Regions from separate parts of the Homo sapiens genome. Here region 2 is linked to region 1. The links are contacts of gene promoters, found by promoter capture Hi-C in blood cells and fetal thymus (Javierre and others, 2016). All regions are on one chromosome and are shown on one strand. The core of a region is centred on a gene start or on the middle of the fragment in contact, and the rest is flanking DNA. Distances in the headings are between cores, read along the strand shown. Region 1 holds the start of OBSCN-AS1 (OBSCN antisense RNA 1). Region 2 overlaps RNF187 (ring finger protein 187).

Evidence for each region. The method cuts DNA at HindIII sites, captures the fragments that hold promoters and counts their contacts. A CHiCAGO score of 5 or more calls a contact.
Region 2: a fragment that was not itself captured here is called in contact with the fragment with the promoter of OBSCN-AS1 in region 1 in 10 of 17 cell types (naive CD8 T cells, erythroblasts, total B cells and 7 more); the score reaches 9.0 in naive CD8 T cells.

The regions. Positions count from the first base shown.
Region 1 is chr1:228,209,445-228,214,987 of GRCh38, forward strand. It overlaps OBSCN-AS1 (OBSCN antisense RNA 1), which reads right to left and starts at 4,211. Exons shown (of 2, transcript NR_073155.1): 1 at 3,978-4,211. It overlaps OBSCN (obscurin, cytoskeletal calmodulin and titin-interacting RhoGEF), which reads left to right. Exons shown (of 116, transcript NM_001386125.1): 2 at 2,322-3,327; 3 at 3,997-4,266; 4 at 4,730-4,990; 5 at 5,346-5,543. The coding sequence starts at 2,340. RefSeq lists a silencer at 4,298-4,347. The HindIII fragment of the contact is 3,550 bases long and covers 1,937-5,486 here.
Region 2 is chr1:228,493,307-228,498,854 of GRCh38, forward strand. It overlaps RNF187 (ring finger protein 187), which reads left to right. Exons shown (of 4, transcript NM_001010858.3): 4 at 577-2,882. The coding sequence ends at 579. Among named protein-coding and RNA genes, the nearest start is that of RNF187, 8.7 kb to the left of the region's middle. RefSeq lists an enhancer at 1-513. The HindIII fragment of the contact is 2,203 bases long and covers 1,393-3,595 here.

The sequences.
Region 1 (5,543 bases), core at 2,961-5,460:
TAACGGGAGCTCCCTGACCTGTCCCGGTCCTCTAGGCCCAGAGAGGCTACCCACACATGCTGCCTCATCTGTTCCACTGTGACCCTGGCAGGGCCAGCTGGGGATCTGGGTGTGGCAGAGGTTGGGGGAGAGGATGCCCCGTTCTGCTTTTGGGGAACCCACAGACCTGCTATATGATTTTTTTTTTTTAAGAGACTGGGCCTTGCTCTGTTGCCCAGGCTGGAGGGCAGTGGCATACTCACAGCTCACTGCAGCTTTGACCTCCTGGGCTCAAGCCATCCTCCTGCTTCAGTCTCTTGAGTAGCTGGGACAGCAGGCACCTGCCACCATGTCGAGTTAATTTGTTTTAATTGTTTTTGTAGAGATGGGGGTCTCACATGTTGCCCAGGCTGGCCTCGAACTCCTGGGCTCAAGGGATCCTCCCACCTCTGCCTCCCACAGTGCTGGGATTACATGTGCTTGCCACCACACCTGGCCTGACTGTATGACTTTGGAGAGTGCTGGGGACAGCCCAGAGCTCATGGGCCCTGCAGAGTTGATGTCAAAGTAGCCCTTTTGAGTCCTGGGAGGAGCCCATAGAGGCAAATTCCCAGAAAGGGTGAAACTCGGACCCCGGTCCCTGCTGTGGGCAGGCCCCTGCCCAGGTCCTCCCCAGCCCCAGAGCCCTGCTGTGGGTGGGGAGGCTGGGCTGCAGCATAGGTGCTGCCTGCACAGTGAGTCAGCAGACTGGTGCCCGCTGCGCAGTCCAGCCCTGCTCCAGCCTCAGACTGCCCAAGGGGATTAAGGGGGATTAACTACCTGAATCACAGGACCAGGAGGAGGGCCTGGGAACGTTGCCCTGGCTCAGCCCACAGTGGGCAGCCCAGGCCCAGAAGCTGGTGGCTCTGGCCTGAGAGAGAGTACAGGCGAGGTGCCCTGGCGGGGGCCTCTCCACCATGGGGTGGTTGTGCCTGCCAGGGCTGGAGGGAGTTAAGGCGCCCCGGGCCAGCCCAGTGCCAGTGGGGCCCACTCACACCCGCTGTTCCTACAGAAGAGCTGCATAGGCACGGTAGTGTCAACCCACACCATCTATATGGGGGGATCTGTACTGGGGCGGCTGGCCTGCTGGGCTCCGCCTGGGGTGGTCAAAGGACAGCATCACCTGGGGCCTTTGGCACTGGTGTCCACCCTCAGCCCTGCAGCATGTCCAGCTGGCCAGTGTGGCTGAGAACTGTGGGGTGACCAAGTTGGGCCTGGCTGACCCAGCCCAGCTGGTCTCAGCCTGGAGGTCTCTAGCCCTTCCAGGGGGATGTTACTGGCCTTGCCAGCTCCAGACTCTGGGGTCCCCCAGCTATGCTCCCAAGCCAGATCCCTGACTGTGCCCTGCCCTTGCATCCCAATCCCACCCTGGGGCTCAGTGGGGGGGCCTGGGAGCAAGCAGCTAAGTGGTTTCCAGTCCTTCCCGCTCATGGATAAAGAGCATGCCCCTGGGGAGGAGGGAGGTGTGTGACCCTGCAGAAGAGGTGAGGCCCCTCTGCAACAAGGGCAGCTTCAGGCCGGACTGGCCCCTCAGTGCAACCTGGAGGGGCTGCTGAAGGAGAGCTGCGTAGGGGTCGGGGGGAAGAGGAGGGAGTAAGGGCTTTGCCCAGGGCGGAGGGTGCATCTCACCTAGAAGAGGCTCAAAGGGGAGCCTGCCAGGGTGGAGAACCGGTGACCTCCTTGTGCGATAGGCAGAGGAGACGGGCATGAGACCGGTGCCCATGGTGGGCCTCCTGCACCCAGGCCTGCCGGGGCTCAGCGAGCCTCCCCTTCTTGATGTGGGGGACACACAGGCCAGCTGAAGTTTTAGGCCCGAGAGGCAGCAGTGTGTGCGGTAGGAGAAAGGATACCACCCCGCAGGTAGGGAGTGGCCTACAGTGCACCAGGCAGGTCTGCCTGCCTCAGGAAGGTGCAGCAAAGCTTGTAGGCTGGGAGGAACCAAAAATAGCGGGCACTGCGAGGGAGGGGGCCCTGCCTGGTTGCTAGGGGGTGTAGGTTTGGGACATGTGCTCCAGTAACTGCAGCTGAGGCAGTGGGTCCCTGTAGGTAGGGAGAGGGAAGGAGATGTTCTCAGCGGCTAGAAGAGCCGTTTGCAGGTGAGGTTACCAAACCCCAAATGCCCAGAAAGGGGCAAGTCTGCACTTCTGGGTCACGGTGCCAACCGGTGATGCTTCCTCAGGGCGCGGGGAGTGGGGGGGAAATAGGATGTGTGGAGGTGTTGAACTGGGTTCCTCAGGCGGCACGGTGGGGTGCACCCGGGCCTCATTCCAATCCCCACTAAGGCCATCCCCACCTACTTGCAGGTCCCCGCCGCCACCCTCATGGATCAGCCACAGTTCAGCGGGGCGCCCCGCTTTCTCACCCGGCCCAAGGCCTTCGTGGTGTCGGTGGGCAAGGACGCCACCCTCAGCTGCCAGATCGTGGGTAATCCCACGCCACAGGTGAGCTGGGAGAAGGACCAGCAGCCGGTGGCGGCCGGCGCGCGCTTCCGTCTGGCCCAGGACGGCGACCTCTACCGCCTCACTATCCTGGACCTGGCGCTGGGCGACAGTGGGCAATACGTGTGCCGCGCGCGCAATGCCATAGGCGAGGCCTTCGCTGCTGTGGGCCTGCAGGTGGACGCGGAGGCCGCGTGCGCCGAGCAGGCGCCGCACTTCCTGCTGCGGCCCACGTCCATCCGCGTGCGCGAGGGCTCAGAGGCCACCTTCCGCTGCCGCGTGGGTGGCTCCCCGAGGCCGGCAGTGAGCTGGTCCAAGGACGGGCGGCGCCTGGGTGAGCCCGACGGCCCCCGCGTGCGCGTGGAGGAGCTCGGCGAGGCAAGTGCGCTGCGCATTCGGGCGGCGCGGCCGCGCGACGGCGGCACTTACGAGGTCCGCGCCGAGAACCCGCTGGGCGCTGCCAGCGCCGCCGCGGCGCTAGTGGTGGACTCGGACGCCGCGGACACGGCCAGCCGGCCCGGGACCTCCACGGCCGCGCTCCTGGCGCACCTGCAGCGGCGGCGCGAGGCTATGCGCGCCGAGGGCGCCCCCGCCTCACCGCCCAGCACCGGCACGCGCACCTGCACGGTGACTGAAGGCAAGCACGCGCGCCTCAGCTGCTACGTGACCGGCGAGCCCAAGCCCGAGACGGTGTGGAAGAAGGACGGCCAGCTGGTGACCGAGGGCCGGCGCCACGTGGTGTACGAGGACGCGCAGGAGAACTTCGTGCTCAAGATCCTCTTCTGCAAGCAGTCGGACCGCGGCCTCTACACCTGCACGGCGTCCAACCTCGTGGGCCAGACCTACAGCTCTGTGCTGGTCGTAGTGCGCGGTGAGCTCCTGGGTGCGGGGCGCGCGGGCCCAGGCTCCTCCGCAACCCGTGCACCTGGGTCCTTTCGCCCTTGCGGTCTGCCGTTTCCCACCCGCGTCTGTCCGGTCGTGGAATCCAGGGTTGCAGGTGTCCGTTCCTGGTGCGCAAAATGCGGGCGACGCCCCACGACCTATTCTAAACACCCGCAACCCGCTTTCCCCACCCAGTCCCCTGCCCGCCCCGCCCCCTTTGCATGCCGCGCCCCCAACCCGCCACCGCTGGCCCACAGACAGGGGCGAGAGGTGTGAGAGGGGCGGGGCCGCAGGGGATCCCACCTCCTCAGCCCCGCCCTCTCCCTCCCGCTGCTCCCAACCCAACCTCCACCACTCTGCCTTCTGCTCTTCTACTCCCCCGCCCCCCAACTTCCTGTCTCCTCCCCTGCGCCCTTCCCAACCCTTAGCCCCTCTGCCTCCTGCTCGCTCCTCTCCCCAGCCCACTCCTCTACCCTGCACCCTCTCCTTTCCAGCCTCCCAGCCCCTCTGCTCCTGTCCCCTATTCCTTCCCACACCCTCACCTCTGCATCCTCCAGTCTCCTTTCCCGCCCACAATCCCCCAATTTCCCCCTTCCCACCCCGCCGTCGTCCTGCACCCTCCGGCCCCGCCCCTCTCACCAGTCTTCTCTCCTGGCAGAGCCCGCGGTTCCCTTCAAAAAGCGGCTGCAAGATCTGGAGGTGCGGGAGAAGGAGTCGGCCACGTTCCTATGTGAGGTGCCCCAGCCGTCCACTGAGGCCGCGTGGTTCAAGGAGGAGACGCGGTTGTGGGCGAGCGCCAAGTACGGCATCGAGGAGGAGGGCACCGAGCGCCGCCTGACCGTGCGCAATGTCTCGGCCGACGACGACGCGGTGTACATCTGCGAGACGCCAGAGGGCAGCCGCACGGTGGCGGAGCTCGCAGTCCAAGGCAGGCGGGGCGGGGCACGGGGCGGGGCACAGGGCGGCTTCGGGGAGGTAGCGGGGGCAAGGAGGCACCGAGAAGGGAGCCGGGGGCGGGGGAGGGGGGAGCCAGGCCGCACGGGCTGGGCGGGCACGGGGGCGGGCAGGGTGCAGACGGACTGGGCTTGCGAGGTACGAGTTGGGACTGGGGCAGGCAGGGGCGGGACTGGGGCGGGAAGGGCAGGTAAGGTGGGGGCGGAGGAGCAAGCTCGGGCCGGGCACGGGGTGGTGATTAGGGGGAAGGGGAGACGGAGTGGGCAGGGGTCTTGTGGGACCGAGCTGGGACTTGGGCCGGCGGGACAGGTAAGGGGTTGCGCGGGGGAGTGAATCGGAGGCAGTTGGGAACCGGGAGACAGGGGGCAAGCGGAGGAGCGAGTCTGGAGCGGGGCGTGCAGGGGCTGGTCTGACTGGCCCGGCTCCCTCCACCCCAGGAAACCTCCTCCGAAAGCTCCCTCGGAAGACGGCGGTGCGCGTGGGCGACACGGCTATGTTTTGCGTGGAGCTGGCGGTCCCGGTGGGCCCCGTCCACTGGCTGCGGAACCAGGAGGAAGTGGTGGCGGGGGGCCGCGTGGCCATCTCCGCGGAGGGCACGCGCCACACACTAACCATCTCCCAGTGCTGCCTGGAGGATGTGGGCCAGGTGGCCTTTATGGCTGGCGACTGCCAGACGTCCACCCAGTTCTGCGTGTCGGGTGAGGGCCTGAGGGTGCTCCCAGGATGGCATCGCTTCCCTGCTGTCTCCCTGGTCCCAGTCCCCTGCCCTCCATTACCTCAGCTCTCTGGGCTTCAGCCTGCTGTACCGAGGGCCGCCGGGCAAGACCATAGCCCTGGCCCTCCAACGTTAGGCTCCCTGAGCCCCCGCGCAGTCTTTCAGCTGCAACCAGAGAAGTGGCTGCAGGTCTGGGGCTGGAGGTTGTGGCCAGTGGTCCAGGTCCCCAGAGCAGCCCCAAGAGAGCTGGGGATCCTGTGACACCCCTCCAGGTGATTCCAGACCCAGGGCTCAGGAAGAGGCTCCCAGTAGTTGACCTCTGCCCACCCTCTACACAGCCCCCAGGAAGCCTCCCCTGCAACCCCCTGTGGATCCTGTGGTAAAGGCCAGGATGGAGAGTTCCGTGATTCTCAGCTGGTCCCCACCACCCCATGGGGAACGCCCTGTCACTATCGACGGCTACCTGGTAGAGAAGAAGAAGCTTGGCACCTACACCTGGATCAGGTGCCACGAGGCTGAATGGGTGGCTACACCTG
Region 2 (5,548 bases), core at 1,244-3,743, 280 kb after region 1:
GGGCCAGGGTGGACGCAGGCAGCAGCGAGCCATTGGGGGACCATTGCCCGAAGTCAAGGCTTAAAAGCCCAGCCTGACTCCCACTGCCGTGGCCTTGCAGGGCTGAATTTCGGGAATGGGTGGGTGGTCAGGGAAGGTGATGGGAAGGGGTTTTAAGTTGAGGAGGGTCTGAGGTGTCCCTGACCTTCACAAAGGAGGGCACTTGGCATCCCGAGTGCCCGAGCATGGAAGGCTCCTGCCTCGCCCTGGGGTCCTGAAGGCAGAAGCAGCCAAGAAACCCAACCTCAGGGCTTTTCTTCTGCCTCTGCCCAGGGCCTGGCCTGAACCCCAGACCCTGCAGCAACCCAGATGGCCCTGAACGGTTCAGTTGCCCGTGCCAGCCATAGGTGACAAGGCTTTGGCCCTGGGGAGACGGAAGTCTGGGCCAGGCCCTGGGTTTGTTGTGCTCAGGACAGTACCTCATGCGCTGTCTCATGTGCGCTCTCTCTTTCGCTCTCTCCTTTTGCCTCTGTCTCTGACTCTGTGTGTCTCTTTCTCTTTTTGTCTCTCTGTCTTTCCCTCTCCCCTCCCATGCAGTGATGGCGCCAACCCGTGGCAGTCCCAGAGCTGGAGGCAGGAGGATGGATCCTCATCTCCATGGGAAGTGTCAGCGTGTGGCTGCCAGGGAAGCGTGGCAGGCGCCTGGCCTTGGGTCCATCTACATAGTTGCGTGTTTCAACAATGTCCATTTATCCTTCACCCCGAGGCGTGTTTTGGGGGCTGCAAACACCTCCCGGTAGAGGCTGGACCTGAGGACCCTTCCCACCTGTGCCCGTCCCTTCCTGAAGTCCTAGCCACAGCCCATCCTCCATGAGTCCCGGCAGCTCTGGGTCATGCCCTTCCCTGGTCACCCATCTGCCCCTCACCTCGTCATCCAGGGACCCAGACCCTGCACCTTCCATGTGGGCCCACAGATCCTTGGCAGGTACCTGAGGTGCACCATTGAGTGTCGGATTTGGGGTTAGCATCCAGAAAGAAGAATGCGCATGACGCTCTGTGAAGGCTGGAACTCAGGTCTTCAGGGAGAGAAAGGAAGACTGGATTGCACCTTGATGCCTCCTGAGGAGGCGGCCCCCCTCTTGAGGTGGGCGTGGGCCCGGCCCAGCCTTATCCAAGTCGCTCTGTCCACCTCCCCCTTCCTGGCCCCCACCCCACTCCTGTGCCTCCCAGGAGCCCTCCCTGTGCTCCACCTGCCTCCGCAGAAGGAAGCCTCTTTCTCTGTTTCCCTGGGTGAGGGGGCTGGCAGGTGGCTAACCCCATTTAGCATCTCCAGGCCCTGCCATCGTGTCTCATCTTGCTGTTATCTCTAGCTCTTTCCCTCCTCCCATTTCCTTTAGTAGTTGAATTTTGCAAAGCTTGTAGCAGTAGCTCAGTTGCCTGCAGCATCCTTGTGTGTAGATAAATTAGTCGACAGAAACTCAGCACTGGGGACAGGATTGCAAAGTCGGGGACATAGATGCAGACAGTTGTTGAGATTTGGGGATAGCCGGGCTTGTGAGCGGTGCCCATTTCCAGATGAAGCCTTTCAGCCCTTCTGAGTCCCCGGCCCTTGGTGCGATGTCTGTGAGTTTGACCTGCCCAGCGTGTGGGCTGGCTCAATGCTGAATAAAGTGGGTTTGTGTCAGCTCGTTTGCTTCGTCTCCGTGTGTCCACCTGGCCTCTTCCCCCTGCCCTGGCCACCCTCCAGTGTCAAAGGAAACTTCCTCGTGACACGTGCTAAAGCATGGTGAGGAGGACTTTGATTGGGACCATTGAGATGGGTGTGGGACCCTTTCCTTGGGGCCTGGGGGGAGATGGGGCTCCACCCCGACGTAGCAGGGCAGGGGTTGGAGGAGCGAGGAGCAGTATAGGGTCCATGGGTGGGAATGACTGTGAGGAGACATCAGGGCTGAGGGGGCTCTGGCTAAACCCACCTCACAGAGTCCTTGCTGCAGGCAGGCAGGGCGATCAGACATTGGCTGCAAACGGTCAGAGAGGAACCCAGTCAGGTACCATTGAGGGTGGTCAGATATTATGGTTAACCAAATTAGGGTTCTTGCTAAAACTGGATTTCATAAGAAAGGGCAAAGAGGGCCCTAGGAGAAGATTCCAGAGCCTGGCCAGAGTTTGGCCAAGTAGAGAATCTTTGTCAGCACGCCAACAACATCCCGACCCTGAGACCTCCAGTTTGTCTTTCTCACTGTCTCCGCCTGCTGCAGTCTGCTGTCATCCCTGAGCATCCCTGCCCCTGCCCTGCACACCTGTGATGCTTGCCCGGACAGGTCCTGATGGCAGAGTCTCCCACAACATCAGTGTCTCCACATCACCAGGTCCGACAGTGGCTTCACCATCCTCACCTAACCTAGCTGACCAGCAACATCCCACCCTGTCAATCACAACCTCTTTCTATTTAAGAAAATTATATATTTATGGGGCACAGTGTGATGTTTTGATATCTATGTACATTGTGGAGTGACAGATTAATGTATCCATCTCATGTTTTTTTTGGTGGTGAGAATATTTGAAATCTACACTCAGCAATTTCAAATACAGTCATCCCTCTGTGCCTAAGGGGGATTGGTTCCAGGACCCCCTCATGGATACCAAAATCTGCAGATACTCAAGTACCCTGCAGTCAGCCCTCCCTCTGCACATATGTGGGACAGTCAGATACAGAGGGCCAACTGCGTACAGTACACGGTTATCAGCTGAAGTCACCATGCTGTGCAATAGACCTTGAGTTTATTCTTGTATAGCAGGGACTCTGTACCCTCTGACTAGAATTTCCCCAAATCCTCTTGTCTCAGCCCCTGCTAACCACCGTTCTACTCTCTAATTCTATAAATCAACATTTTGATTCCACATATAAGTGAGATCATGTGATATTTGTCCTGTTCCTGGCTTATTTCACTTAATATAAATGTCCTGTAAATTCACCCATGTTGCAAATGGCAGGGTTTCCTTTTTTATGGCCAAATAGTATTCCATGATGTGTATACACCACATTTTCTTAAGCCATTTATCCACTTTATCCCTTTATCACTTTGCTTCTAGACCACGTAGGTTGATTCCGTATCTTGACTGTTGTAAAAGTGCTCTTAAGAAACACAGGAGTGTGGGTATCTCTTCCATATATTCATGTCGTTTCCTTTGGGAAAATACTTAGCAGTAGGATTGCTGGGTCACGGTACTCTTTTTAAGTTTTTGAATAACCTCCATATGCTTCTCCATAATGGCTATAATAATTTACATACTCACCAACATTTATTTTCTTTGAAATTAGTCATTCTAAGAAGTGTGAGATAATCTCATTGTGATTTGGTTTACGTTTCCCTGATGATTAATGATGTTGAGCATTTTTTTATATACCTGTTGGCCATTGGTATGTCTTCTTTTGAGAAGTGTCTCTTCAGGTTCTTTGCTCATTTTTTAGTCGTTTATTTGCTTTCCTGCTATTGAGTTTGAGTTCCATGTATATTTTGGATATTAACCCCCTACTTAATGTATGGTTTGCAAATACTCTATCCCAATTTGTGAGTTGTCTTCACTCTGTTTATGATTTCCTTTGCTGTGCAGAAGCTTTTTAGCTCTATGCAATCATGTATGTTTATTTTTCTTTTGTTGCTTGTGCTTTTAGGGTCATATGCAAGAAGTGATACAACCCTGAAACCTAGGCCAGTGTCATGGAGTTTTTCACCTGTGTTTTCTTCTACTGGCTTTACAGTTTCAGGCCTTACAATTAAGCCCTTGTCTGTTTTGAATGGATTTTTGTGTAGGGACATTCCCTCCACAAGGGCTTTCTCTGGCCTTGCTGATGCTCCTCCGTCTCCCTTGTGTCCTCTCCACTCCACCCTCTTCATGTGGAAGAACCCTTGGCATCCTCGTGTGGCCTCTCTGTCCTATCCAGCCCCCCATGGTGACCTCACACTTGCCTCTCTGACGTGGGTCTCTCTCCCAAACCCTCTTCCAGGTCCAACCACTGCCTCCATCCCAGACTTGCCCAGGGGCCCAATCCCTGCAGTCCTCAGACATCTCAGAGCTGTCTCTGAGTTGTTTTCTCTAACAGTCCACAATAGGTCTGCAAAGGAATCCTGCAGGCTCTTCCTGTAGCCAAAGACCTTGACCTCATCTTACCTGCTCCCCGCCAGTCCCCCACCGTGGCCCACTGGCACTGTCCTCTTCTGCCCAGGAGACCTGGGGACCTCATCTCCTCCCGCTGCTCCAACAATGCATTCTCAACCCAGCAGGTAGATGGGTTTCTACTTTAAAATATGTAGGATGAACCAGTCTGGTGATCCGATGTACAACAGGAGGAATGTAGGTAATAAAATTGCACTGTTTTGGGAGTTCCTGCTAAATGACTAGACTTCAGCTGCTCTTGCCACAAAATCCTAAAAGTGGTTGACTCTGGGAGGTGATGGGAATGTTAATTGCTCCCCTGTAGTGACCATTTTGCTATCTGTTTGTACTTTGTAACATCACGTTGCATACCTTAAATATACACAATGAAATTTATTAAAACAATGAAAATAAAAACTAAGCAAGAGCCTGCCCCTGCTGTACTCAAGGCCCTGCAGCAACTCAGATTCATTCCGGGAAAGCTTCGCAGTGGCCTGGGAAGTGCTACATAATCCACCCCGAGCTCTTCCTCTCTCGTCACCACTGTGCCCCCTGCTCCCTGCAGACCCAGCATGATGGCCTCTCTGTTCTTCAGCAAGCCAGGTGGGCCCTGCCTCGGCCTCTGATCTCCAGGGAACATTTCTCCCCCATACCTGTGTGGCGGTTGCCCCTCTCCTTCAGGTCTGCTCCCACAGGGTGTTTTATAGAAATGGCTTGAAACAGACGCCCTTCCTCAGCCCTTGACCACGCAAGCTCTGAGGAGCCACTGGTGTCCCTGTGGCTTTGCTGCAACCAGATCTCTCTGGTCAAGGGCAGCCCTAGGCAGGAGGATCTCCGAGGCTGGCTGTGGGTGACATGTGGAAGGAAACTGAGGCCAGGCACTGCATAGAAAAGCAACAGTTTGTTTGCTGGAAGGTAGGGGACACATTCTCAAGACACTGATGTATTTGTCCAGTAGCTCAATACTTTTTTCTCAACTCTTATTTTCAGAGCTTTGTGGGAAAGCCGTGGATAGTTGGGACCCAAAGGTCGTTTTCAGTTTCAGGATCCTGTGGCCAAAGAGAGGAGATAAAAATGCTTGGGGCCATTTTACCTTCTACATTACCTAACTGAGTAGCTATTATTTCATGAGGTTGACAGCAGCAAAATATAAGGAGATGCTTAAACTATTTAGTAACTGGAGAATCATAATTAAAACCATAATGAGATACTGCTTTAGCTCGGGGTGGGTTGGGGCGGGGGTGGTTCGGGCGGGTGGTGGGAACTGCAGCACTAGGTGATGTTGAAGTCTGAGTGATGATGGCACATTAGGTGAGCCCAGAGGTGCTGTGAGGAGTGTAGAATAAGGCCGCTGCTTTGGAGTGCAGTCTGGGGTCAAACTAAAAGGCATACCTTGGAGAAACCATGGGTT